2 separate regions of the Homo sapiens genome follow, and region 1 is linked to region 2. The links are contacts of gene promoters, found by promoter capture Hi-C in human tissues and cell types (Jung and others, 2019). All regions are on one chromosome and are shown on one strand. The core of a region is centred on a gene start or on the middle of the fragment in contact, and the rest is flanking DNA. Distances in the headings are between cores, read along the strand shown.

Region 1 (4,952 bases), core at 1,373-3,872, 590 kb after region 2:
CTGTGTAGAGAGGACCCCCGCTTCCACCTCCCAAGGTAGAAGATGATGGATGTGTGTTCTCTTCTCCAAGGCCGTTCAGGGCAGAACACCTGGCAGCAGGACTTGATAGGGGCTGGGGGTCCTCCCCGGTGCCTTTTGTCCCAGGCTCTGAGAGCTCATGGCGAGTCTTTTCATGAGGAGGGAGGAAGCTGAACCAGCAAGGGCCCCAGGGCACTCAGCAGGGAGGGGGTTAGAGGTAGCTCCTAAATGAAGCTCTGTCTTCCAGCCAGACAGTCCGACATCCCCCGTGTTTAGAGGGGACTCCTGAGGCCCAGAGAGGTTAAACGGACGGGCAGCAGTCACGGACAATAAACCTGTCAGCAAACGCACACGGAGAGTAGAGAGAGCTTACCTGCAGTTCCTGGCGGAGGTGGTGCCTGGTGGCTGTCAGGTCCTTATATAGGATGACTGGCGTTTGTTCTAAACCAGCAACCCCATCCCAGAGGTGGCCTAGCTTCCGTGGGGCTGATGTACATTCCTTGGGAACTAAAAATGTTCTTGTCCTCTGGGTAGAAGTCAACAGTGGAGGTCAGATGCCCTGCGGAATTGCTGGGTTGGCGAGGGAAGAAGCATGTGCTCCAGCTGTCCCTGGAACACGGTGGCGGGGTGCCCCAAGTGGGCATGGCCCTGGTGGAGGAGGGAGGGAGGAGAGTGGCTCTGGGGTCTGGGTGCAGCTTTGTTGCTGTGTGACCTTAGCTTACTCGCCCTTTCTCCCTGGGTAAAATGAGGCTGTCATCACTAGGAGAGCTCTGAGACCTCCCCAGTCCAGCGCCCCGTTGTTTCCCATGTGCTGTTGCTGCTCTGGCCTCTGTGAGCCCCGGGAGTCCGCAGGGAGCCAGGCTGGTGATTCTACACCTTCCCGAGGAGGAGTCCCACCTCCCGGTTGAGCAGACTGCTCCTGATCATCCTCTCCAGAGAGTGGGTGTGGGGATAACTTCAGCCAGTGGCTATGCTTCAGTCATTTCTGCCAGGTGTGACATGACTGCCTGGCCTGGCGTTTTTTCACATAGCAGCTTGCCTTGCCTCCCTCCAGCAGCTTTGGTCCCTATTTTAGCGGATGCCTCTTCTGAGAGGGAAGTGCATTGGACCTGGAGGTGGAAGATCTACGCTTAGCACGGGCCTGGCTCCTCTCTCATTGACTGGCCTTACGCCGACCACAAATAATTCCCCTTACCCAGAGTCTTTGAGGGTGAAATGAGGCGATGGGGGGAAAGTGGCTTCTAACCTGTGAAACACCCTGCAGATGACAATGGTTTCATACCAGGCCCATAGGACTTCCCAGCATAGGCCAAGGCCACTGCCTCATTTCCCTCGGCCCCAGGAATTTCTTCCTTTCTGGAGTGCTTCATCCAACTGGGTGCCCAGGCAGGAACCCCTAAGGGCCAATGAGTTGTCTGCAGAGAAGTTCTAGCAGTTCAGGAGAGGAGCTCACCTTAGGCTGGGGCTTGCGGCAGGGATGTTAGCAAAGGCTCCAGGAAAGAGGCCTGTGGTGAACTCGGGGCAGGGCTTTGGAGGGAGGGCTTTGCGGCAAGCAGAGGGGAGGTGAAGGCGTGGGTAGAGTACATCAGGGCAGCATGGAGAAGGCTGGGTGGCTTGGGGGAGGGTGGCGATGGGGTCATAACAAAAACATAAGAAGGTGGTTTGGGGCCAGGTGATGGATGCCTTGGGAACTGCTAGCCCAAGAAGTTTGGGCTTTTTTTGCAGGAGGGCAGCCACTGAGGATTCTTGAGGAGAGAGAGACCATAGAATGAATGAAAGAGTTGGAAAGACTTTAAAGCTCTGGGAGGCTGAATCCTTTATTTCGCTGGAAGAAAAACTGAATGCCAAGAGGGCCTCACTTTCCCCAAAGCTATACAGCCATCAGGGGCAATGCTGGGATTCCCCCATGGATCTCTTGACTCCTAATACAGTGCTCTTTCTGATATGCCATCTGGCTCCATAATGAACATTGTGTTCCAGGAAAATCAGTCTGCGCTGAACAGGATGGAATTGGGGCAGGACGTCCAGTGAGGAGGACATTGAGGCAGTAGAGCAGTTGATTGCCGAATGACCACCTACCCTGACTTAAAAGATCAACCTCAGGGAGGATTGGAGCTTTCTAGAGTCTCTTGGGACAGCAGAAGCACAGGCCGGGTTGGACTGAATCTTTAAGTGGACATGAGGGACAAAGTACCTCCTGTTGGTAAACATCTCACCACCAACCCACTGTGGTGGCTAAAATCCCACCTTTAGTCCCAGCAACATATGAGCATGTCACCAGGAGGTCTTCACAGGCCTGTCTGCCACCTGAGTGTAGACATCTTTTGGCCCTGGAGCCCAGAGAGGCTGAATGTGGAGAGGGTGGAGAGAGGTCTGTAGTCCTCAGAGAAGACTTGCAGCTTTTTCAGAGCCACCAACCCATAAAAAAAAAAATCCCCAAACAGAAAAATCCTAACTGTGGTGACCAGGTACCTCCTGAGACATGAAGCCTCCACTTACCTGGACCCTGGAGGCCTCTCCGGGCACAGCTGCCAATGTTGATCTTAGATAAGACCACCAGCAAGTAAACATCCACTGTGCAAAGCTGTGTTATCTTTGGGGAACTGAAATGTCCCCTGGGAGTTGGAAACTCCCCTAGCCACATACCACAGAGTTGAGGAAGGAAGAGCTGATGGACGGAAGAACCATGGCGGGAGGAGTCATCCGGAAGCTACCTCGCTGCCCTGTCAGTTACGGAACAGAGGAGAGATGCCGGCTGGAGGACACAGCAAATTTGAACCAAGAGGAGCTTGGAGGAAGCCCGAGCGACCTGGAGGGGACTGGCTGACCTTCCTCATTCTTTTCAAGTGTGAATAATAACCAAGCCCAGTTTGGCAACTCCTTGAGGGTGAGGACGAAGCCCCATTCTCCTTTTTGGAACTTGGTGGGGCTCAGGAAGCAGGTTCTCTCCAGTCGGTGGCTTTCCTTTCTGTTGCGGGTCTCTTGAGGGCCTGCCTTCATGAAGGCACATGAGTGACTCATCATTTGTGAATTAATTGCTATATGTGAAGGGCATCTGAGAACAAATTATCTTCATAGACTTTTCATTATAATTTTATTTGTACTGATAATTAGTTGGTTTAGCAAGCTCTTTTTTCATAGATTTGGCTAAACTTCAGTCTGAAAGAGGCAAATTCTGGGGTTCTAGAAAGAGATTTTATTCTTTGATATAGGGCTATTTGGTGGGGTTGCTTTTTGTCCTAGTTGTAGCTTTTATAATTTCGAGATTCACATTTTGCAATAGAAATATACAGGCATACCTTGGAGGCATTACAGCTTTGGTCCCAGACCACAATGAAGCAAGTCACACGAATTTTGTTGGTTTCCCAGTAAATATAAAACGTATGCTGATACCATACTATAGTCTAAGTGTGCAACAGCATATGTCTAAATGAATATACATATATATTTTTTTGAGACAGGTTCTTGCTCTGTCACCCAGGCTGGAGTGCAGTGGCACTATCATGGCTCACTGCAGCCTCCACCTCCCTGGACTAAGATGATCCTCCCACCTCAGGCTCCCAAGTAGCTGGGACTACAGGTCACACCACCACACCCAGTTAATTTTTGTATTTTTTGTAGAGACAGAGTCTTGACATGTTGCCTAGGCTGGTCTTGAACTCCTGGCTTAAGTGATCTGCCTGACTTTGCCTCCCAAAGTGCTGGGATTACAGATGTGTAGTCTTTGAAATCCAGTGTGTGTTCTTACAGTGCATTTCAATTTGGACTAGCCATGTTTCAAATGCTCAGCAGCCACATGCGGCTCATTCTAGATAGGCGGCCATCGCTCTTAAATCCTCCCTGACCTTAGCCATGCTCTCTCATCCCTCCTCTTCGCCAAGCTCTGCCTCTCTCACTGGGGCTTCCCTAGCCTCCGGCCATCTTGGGGCCAAAGCTCTAACACTTTGCCTCTCTCGTGTCTTCTGTTCCCCTCCAGTGGCTTCTGCTTTCTGCCTTAAAATACACCCAGGTTCCTAATCCTGAAAACGTCTGTTGTGCACCGATCCCACCCTCCCCTCGTGTTACCATCTCCATTTCCTTCCCCTTTCCTTGTGTCCTCTTCTTTGCTGTGTCCTGGCCCCTCAAAACTTGACCTTGCCTCTCATCCCCACTGCTGTACTGAAACTGTTGTCTCAGCGTTGCTGATCATCCAGCCTTTTAGTCTATGGACCGCTAAGAGCCATAGGACGACCTCAGGGTGGGACGTGGCTTGGAGGGCCATCTCGTCTCAATTTCCAGATACAGACCTGTGTTGGGTTGTGTTGGATTCATGAGGAAAGCTTCATAAGTTTTATGCACGTTTATAAGACTCCATCCTTGGATTCTGATCCAGTAGCTCTGGCGTGGGGGCTTTAGAATCTGTTTCAAGTATCTCAGGTAATTTTGATTATAAATTACCAAGTATCCCAGGTAAATTTTGATTATAAATGCTTGCTTCCAGCAGAAAATATAAACATATGGAAGATGAAATCTTTCTCTCTGAATAACCCAATTCAGTTTCCACTCGTGAATATCTTATATAACCGTAGTACATTTATCAAAATTAAAACACCAGTGTTAGCACATTACTGTTAATCTCCAGACTATTTGTAAGTCACCAATTTTTCCATTGTCCCATCTGTTCTTCCTTTTCTTTCTCTTGTCATAACCACTTTTAGAGGGTTTTGAATGGTATCATTTTGTCTTCACCGTCGGCTTATTAGCTATACTGTACTGTTCTATTCTTTGAGTGGTTGCTCTAGGATTTACAAATATGACTTCAACATATTGCAGAATACCTTCAACAACTACGATATCCTTTCACAGATAGTGTAAGAACTGCACCACAGAATGCTTTCATTTCCCCACTTCTATTCTTTGTGATATTATTGTCACACATTTTATTTTTACTTAAG
Region 2 (5,584 bases), core at 1,813-4,312:
CTAAGATGCGTCATGTCTAGGCCTCAAGGCTGGGGCCTTTTTTTTCTTTTCTTTTTTTTTTTTTTTTAGACACAGTCTCACTCTGTTGCCCAGGCTGGAGTGCAGTGGTGCAGTCTGGCTCACTGTGACCTCTGCCTCCCGGGATCAAGTGATTCTCCTGCCTTCAGCCTCCCAAGTAGCTGGGATTACAGGCATATGCCACCATGTCCAGTGAATTTTTATATTTTCAGTAGAGACAGGGTTTTGCCATGTTGGCCAAGCTAGTCTCGAACTCCTGACCTGCCTCGGCCTCCCAAAGTGCTGGGATTACAGCCAAGGCTGAGGACTTTCAACAGCTGCAGCGTGCTGCCAGATTTCAGGGGCCTCCTTACTGTTAGGTATAAGACTTCATGCCTCAGCTTGCTCTTCCTGAGGAGTGGAAGCAGAGAGCTGCTGGGGCAAATTCCCTCCTGCTTAGCTACCCTCCTTCCCAGTGATCGCAAAGATAGTTATTTTCACAACAGGTCAGGTCAGGCCAGGCACAGTTGCTCACGCCTGTAATCCCAGTACTGTGGGACGCCAAGGCAGGCGGATCAGTTGAGTCCAGGAGTTTGAGACCAGCCTGGGCAACATGGTAAAACCCTATCATGGTGGCATGTGCCTGTAGTCCCAGCTACTTGAGGGGCTGAGGTGGGAGGATGGCTTGAGGCTACAGTGAGCGCTGATTGTGTCACTGCATTCCAGCCTGGGCAATAGAGTGAGACCTTGTCTCAAGAAAAAAAAAAAAAAGGTTAGTGTCCCAGTAAAAGCTCCTGCTCTAGGTGGGAACAGTAGCCTGAGGGCTTAGAGGAATGGTTTAAGGGAAAACAGGGCCAGATATTTGGGGCCTGAACCACAAGGATAGCATGGCCGTAGGACAGACACTGGCCTTGTACAGTCAGAAGAAGCACAAGGACAGGTGGTATGGAGGGAGGGAGGATGAGGATACTGGGTCCTGTCCCAGGGTAATGTCTTTGTTCTTTCTCTTGACCTCCCCATAGGCTTGCAGCCCTGAGTGATCGAGAGACTCGGCTGCAGGAGGTGCGCTCAGCCTTCTTGGCTGCGTACAGCAGCACAGTGGGGCTTCGGGCAGTAGCCCCCAGTCCTTCCGGTGCCATCGGGGGCCTGCTGGAGCAATTTGCCCGTGGTGTTGGACTCCGGAGCATCAGCAGCAATGCCTTGTGAAGAAGCCAGCCCATGACATTTTCCTGCTCCTCTCTCAGCTGAGCCCTTAGCAGAGAATCAAAGCCATGCCTGGCCGAAGGGGTACTTCCAGGTCAGGGGAAATTTCAGTCCCCCATCTCCATCATGAACATGGCAGCCCCAAAGCTGAGCAAGGCCAAAGACAGGGTTTTCCAACCCCCAGCCTCTTGACTGGTGACCACCACCCCTTCTTGTCACTGTCTCCCACCCACCCCATCTTTGCTGGGATTCCCATCAACTCTCAGAACTGTGTGGGGTTTCCCTGGGGCCTTGTGGAAGCCATGACTTCACAAAGACCCTACCTGTCAGTTCTTGTTTCTGGGGAGGAGGGATCACCTGCACTGAGAATGAGGCAGTTTGACACAGATCACAAAATAAAATCAAAGTCTTTTTGAATAGCCACTCTTGTGTCATCATTTGGTTATTGTCTTTGTGGAGCTACTAGGAAGGTTCTCATTGTCCTTCCTTGTGCTGGACAAGGGGTTTTTATGTGGAGGGCAGGTGAAACAGGAAGAGAACTGGCGACAGGTATACCTCTCCACTCATGAGCCATGGTAGTCCCTGCAGTGGGGACAACACTCAAGACTGTTGAGAGTAGTGGTTCTCGGGCCTAAGCAGGTCCTAGTCACCTAGAGAGCCTGATGAGCTGTGCACATTCCCAGGGCTGCCTGAGCTTTAGCCTTAGGGTTGCTAAGGAAGTTGCCTGGGAATTAGGAGCTGGAGGATCTTCATTTTTTTCAGATTTTTTGAGATGGAGTCTCACTGTTACCCAAGCTGGAGTGCAATGGCACAATCTTGGCTCACTGCAACCCCTGCCTCCTGGGTTCAAGCGATCCTCCTGCCTCAGTCTCCTGAGTAGCTACGTGAACGTGCCACCATCCCCAGCTAATTTTTGTATTTAGTAGAGATGGGGTTTCACCATGTTGGCCAGGCCAGTCTCAAACTCCTGAGCTCAAGTGATCTGCCTGCCTTGGCCTCCTAAAGTGCTGGGATTACAGGCATGAGCCACCGTACCTGACCAGGATCTTCATCTTTAACAAGTTCTGTAGGCAGCAGGGTCCTGGTACGGGTGACCTGCATCCCCTACCTTGAGCCCTGCCTATGGAGGAAGGACTGGCTTCTGAAGCTTTGGAGATAGCAATTGGTGTGCATGTGTGGTGGGTGAGAGCCTGGCTGACCACCACCCTCTTCTACAGTGTAACCTACAGTAGATTGCGTCATGAGAGTGTGTCCGCATCTGTAACGCCATGAAAGTCGTGAGGGTTAAAGGCATGGGCAGACAGCTTTGCACGGTGCTCAACAGCCACCATTTACTGTCATCATTGTGAATACCCAGAGGACAAATCATAAATACCAGTGAATGTTTACTGAGCACTTGCTGTGTGCTAAGTGTTTTCCTTGGGTTATCTCAGTAAAATTTTACAGCACCTAAAGTAGCTGCTGTTAAAGGCCTTTCTGACGGCCTTTCACGGTTGAGCCACAGAGATGTTGAGTAACTTGTCCAAGGTCACACAGCTACTAAGAGATGTACTTTTCCTATTCAGAGACCTAGGCAGGCTGGGAGTGGGAAAAGACAGAAACACTAAGGGAGTGGCTCAGTAAGAGGCAACAATTCCAGTGCCCACCAGGTGCCCCAAATGTTTCAGCATCATGGACAACTCTAGGGGGCTTGGGTTTCCACCCCAGAGACTTGCGCAGGGCAGACTCTACCAAGGTGTGGGTTGGAGTTGGGAGTCGGGGTGAGGTTCCCCGCTGGCTCCAGGCTGCTCCAATGGGGCGGGGGCCGCCCGCAGGGCCGGGCGGGGCTGTGCTGCCATCTGGAGCCGCTGCCGCCGGCGGCCACTGTCAGGGCGCGAGCGGCTGGAGCGCACGCAGGGCTGGAGCGAGTGCAGCCGCCGCCGCCGCCGACACCGCGGCACATGGGCCGGCCCCGCCGCTGCCGTCGCCCCTAGCCCCAGCAGCCCTGGTCTCGCAGCCTCCTGCGGCTCTGGTCGCCCGACCAGCCATGTCTCTCGGCGGAGCCTCCGAGCGCAGCGTCCCGGCCACCAAGATTGAAATTACCGTGTCCTGCCGGTGAGCGGGCCGCGCTGGGGAGGGCTTAGGCACTGGCACTGCCCCAGCCCCAGCCAGCCGCGGGGCTCAGCCTGGGCAGGGGCTAGACCCCCGGGGAGAGGCGAAATTGGCTGGAAAATCACAGCTGATGACAGGGCGAGTAGCTGGTGGGATCGAGAAGCGGGGGGTCTTGGGCAGCCCCACCCCGAAAAAAGGGCTCAGCCTGCGGGTTCAGGGGGTGGGTCGCAGATATCCGGTAGGAGCTCGGCCCCAGGAGGACAAAGTTCTGGGGCGAGCCCTCTTTCCTGGGCCCTTGGAGACAGTGTGGGTGCGTTCGCGTCCAGTCCGCAGAGCCATGGTTCCTGGACAGCGATTTCCGGTGCTGTCCAGAGTGCTGACAGAGCGGACCCCGGCTGGGGGTAGCCATGGGGGACAGAGGTTCGATGCGGGCCCCATGCCTCTCCTCAGTGCCCGGCTCAGAGCCGACTCGAGGCGGGCGGACTCCAGGATGATCCACTCTGTCTGTCTGTTGCTTTTCTCTAGGAACCTGCTAGACCTTGATACCTTCTCCAAGTCCGACCCCAGTAGGCGGCTCCAGGACCGGGAGGGGGAACTTGGGGTCTGGGCGCGACTCAGGGGCGGGTGGAGTCGGGGCCAGGGGTGGGAGCCGACCTGACGTCCTTCCCTCCCCGCCCCCACCTGCAGTGGTGGTGCTTTACACGCAGAGCCGGGCCAGCCAGGAGTGGCGGGAGGTGAGTCCCAGAGCCCCCTCCCGGCCCAGGGCGTCGCCCGGGAATTCCCCTGCCCGTCTGCACGTCCCACGCTGACCCTCCACCCCCCTACCCAGTTCGGACGGACCGAGGTGATTGATAACACGCTGAACCCAGACTTCGTGCGCAAATTCGTCCTCGACTATTTCTTTGAGGAAAAGCAAAATCTGCGCTTCGATGTGTGAGGCCCCGCCTGGAATTCTGGCTTGGCCCGCCCCCGACCTGGATCCGCCCGGAATTCTGGCTGGCCCCACCCCCGCCTCGCCTCCGGCCTGGTTCTTCTCGCAGGCCTCCCTCCCATTCTGAATGGCCCCCTCTAGCCTGAGCCCTGCCCTTTTATGAGATGCGGTCCAGTTCCGTCCCCCGCTCTGGCCCCGCCCACAACTCTGCTCCTATCGCAGCTCCACCTCAGGCCCGACCCCTTCCACACAACCCTGCCCCCAGCAGCCCCTGACTTGGCCTCGGCCCAGGCTTGACCGTCTGACTACTCAGCCCACCCTGACTCCTCCCCAAAAGGAGACCAAAGCTGAATTCGGGTCCACGGCCGCCCATCCCTCCACCCAAAATTTTCACCAAGACTCGGTGCCCGACCCCTTTCCACCCTCTCCCCCACCCAGCCCCACCCCACACCGGTTCCACTCTTTTCCCAGGTACAACGTGGACTCCAAAACCAACATCTCCAAACCGGTGAGCAAACGTTTCCTCGAGGGTTGGCGGAGCGCACAGGAGGCACTTAGATGTGTTCAACGACTCTCAGAACTCCTCCCAACCCTCGACCCAGACCCCATCTTCTTCAGGCCCCCAACCCACCCTCCTGGTCCCTCTCCTCCTGCCTGAGTGTCCTGCCTGTGCCCCCTACTCACTGTTCCTCTTCCTTCTTGGCTGCCACTGCTGGGACCTGCAGAAGGTGAGGCTGAATGGGGCTGGGCAGAGGTTGGGGGTGGGGGTGGTATTGTGGAGAACAGGCTTGGACTGATGACCCACTACAAGGCAGAGATTGCTCGCAGACCCCTTCTTTCACACCCCCTCCATTAAAGCCCATGTAGGGCCGTGGCTCTTGCACCACTCATTCGCCTGGGAACTGCCCTGGTCCTGTGCAGGAGCATCACTGGGGCTAGGCTGGGACTCAGCACTCAAGAGCTTCTGGTCTTGCTGACTCCTTGTCCTGCATAGGATTTCCTGGGACAAGCGTTCCTGGCCCTGGGAGAGGTGATTGGAGGCCAGGGCAGCCGAGTAGAGCGAACCCTCACGTAAGCTGAATAGGAAGGGGTGTGGGAGTGGGGTGGGGGCTTCCAAATTCTCCCTCCCAAGGATGCCGCTGACTGATAGAAGTGGAGGCTGGGGTTGCCCCTGGTCAGGAGCCTGCCCCGGCTCCCATCACCCTCGTAGAAAAGTCCAATTTCCAGTGCTCTGCCCGAGTCAGTATCAGGCCTGATATGTCTTTTCTTTTCTTTTTTTTTTTTCTCTCTCTCTCTCTGTTTCTCTCTCTCTCTCCTCACTCTTTTTCTAAGTCTGATTCAGCCTTTAAGGTCCACTTCCAA

Evidence for each region. Contacts are between HindIII fragments. The study calls those that stand out against the background at their distance.
Region 1: a contact is called between the fragment with the promoter of GHRL here and the fragment with the promoter of CPNE9 in region 2, in 1 of the 25 tissues and cell types used here (liver).

What each region holds. Positions count from the first base shown.
Region 1 is chr3:10,290,325-10,295,276 of GRCh38, forward strand. GHRL (ghrelin and obestatin prepropeptide) reads right to left here and starts at 2,623. Exons shown (of 6, transcript NM_016362.5): 1 at 2,518-2,623; 2 at 392-1,127. GHRLOS (ghrelin opposite strand/antisense RNA) reads left to right here. Exons shown (of 6, transcript NR_073568.1): 6 at 1,744-3,125. RefSeq lists enhancers at 267-869, 2,381-2,450, 2,461-2,710, 2,521-2,815. The HindIII fragment of the contact is 19,242 bases long and covers 1-4,952 here.
Region 2 is chr3:9,700,771-9,706,354 of GRCh38, forward strand. CPNE9 (copine family member 9) reads left to right here and starts at 3,063. Exons shown (of 21, transcript NM_153635.3): 1 at 3,063-3,294; 2 at 3,817-3,857; 3 at 3,979-4,025; 4 at 4,121-4,224; 5 at 4,694-4,730; 6 at 4,948-4,950; 7 at 5,217-5,293. The coding sequence starts at 3,227. MTMR14 (myotubularin related protein 14) reads left to right here. Exons shown (of 19, transcript NM_001077525.3): 19 at 1,020-1,623. The coding sequence ends at 1,203. RefSeq lists an enhancer at 2,702-3,612. The HindIII fragment of the contact is 25,532 bases long and covers 1-5,584 here.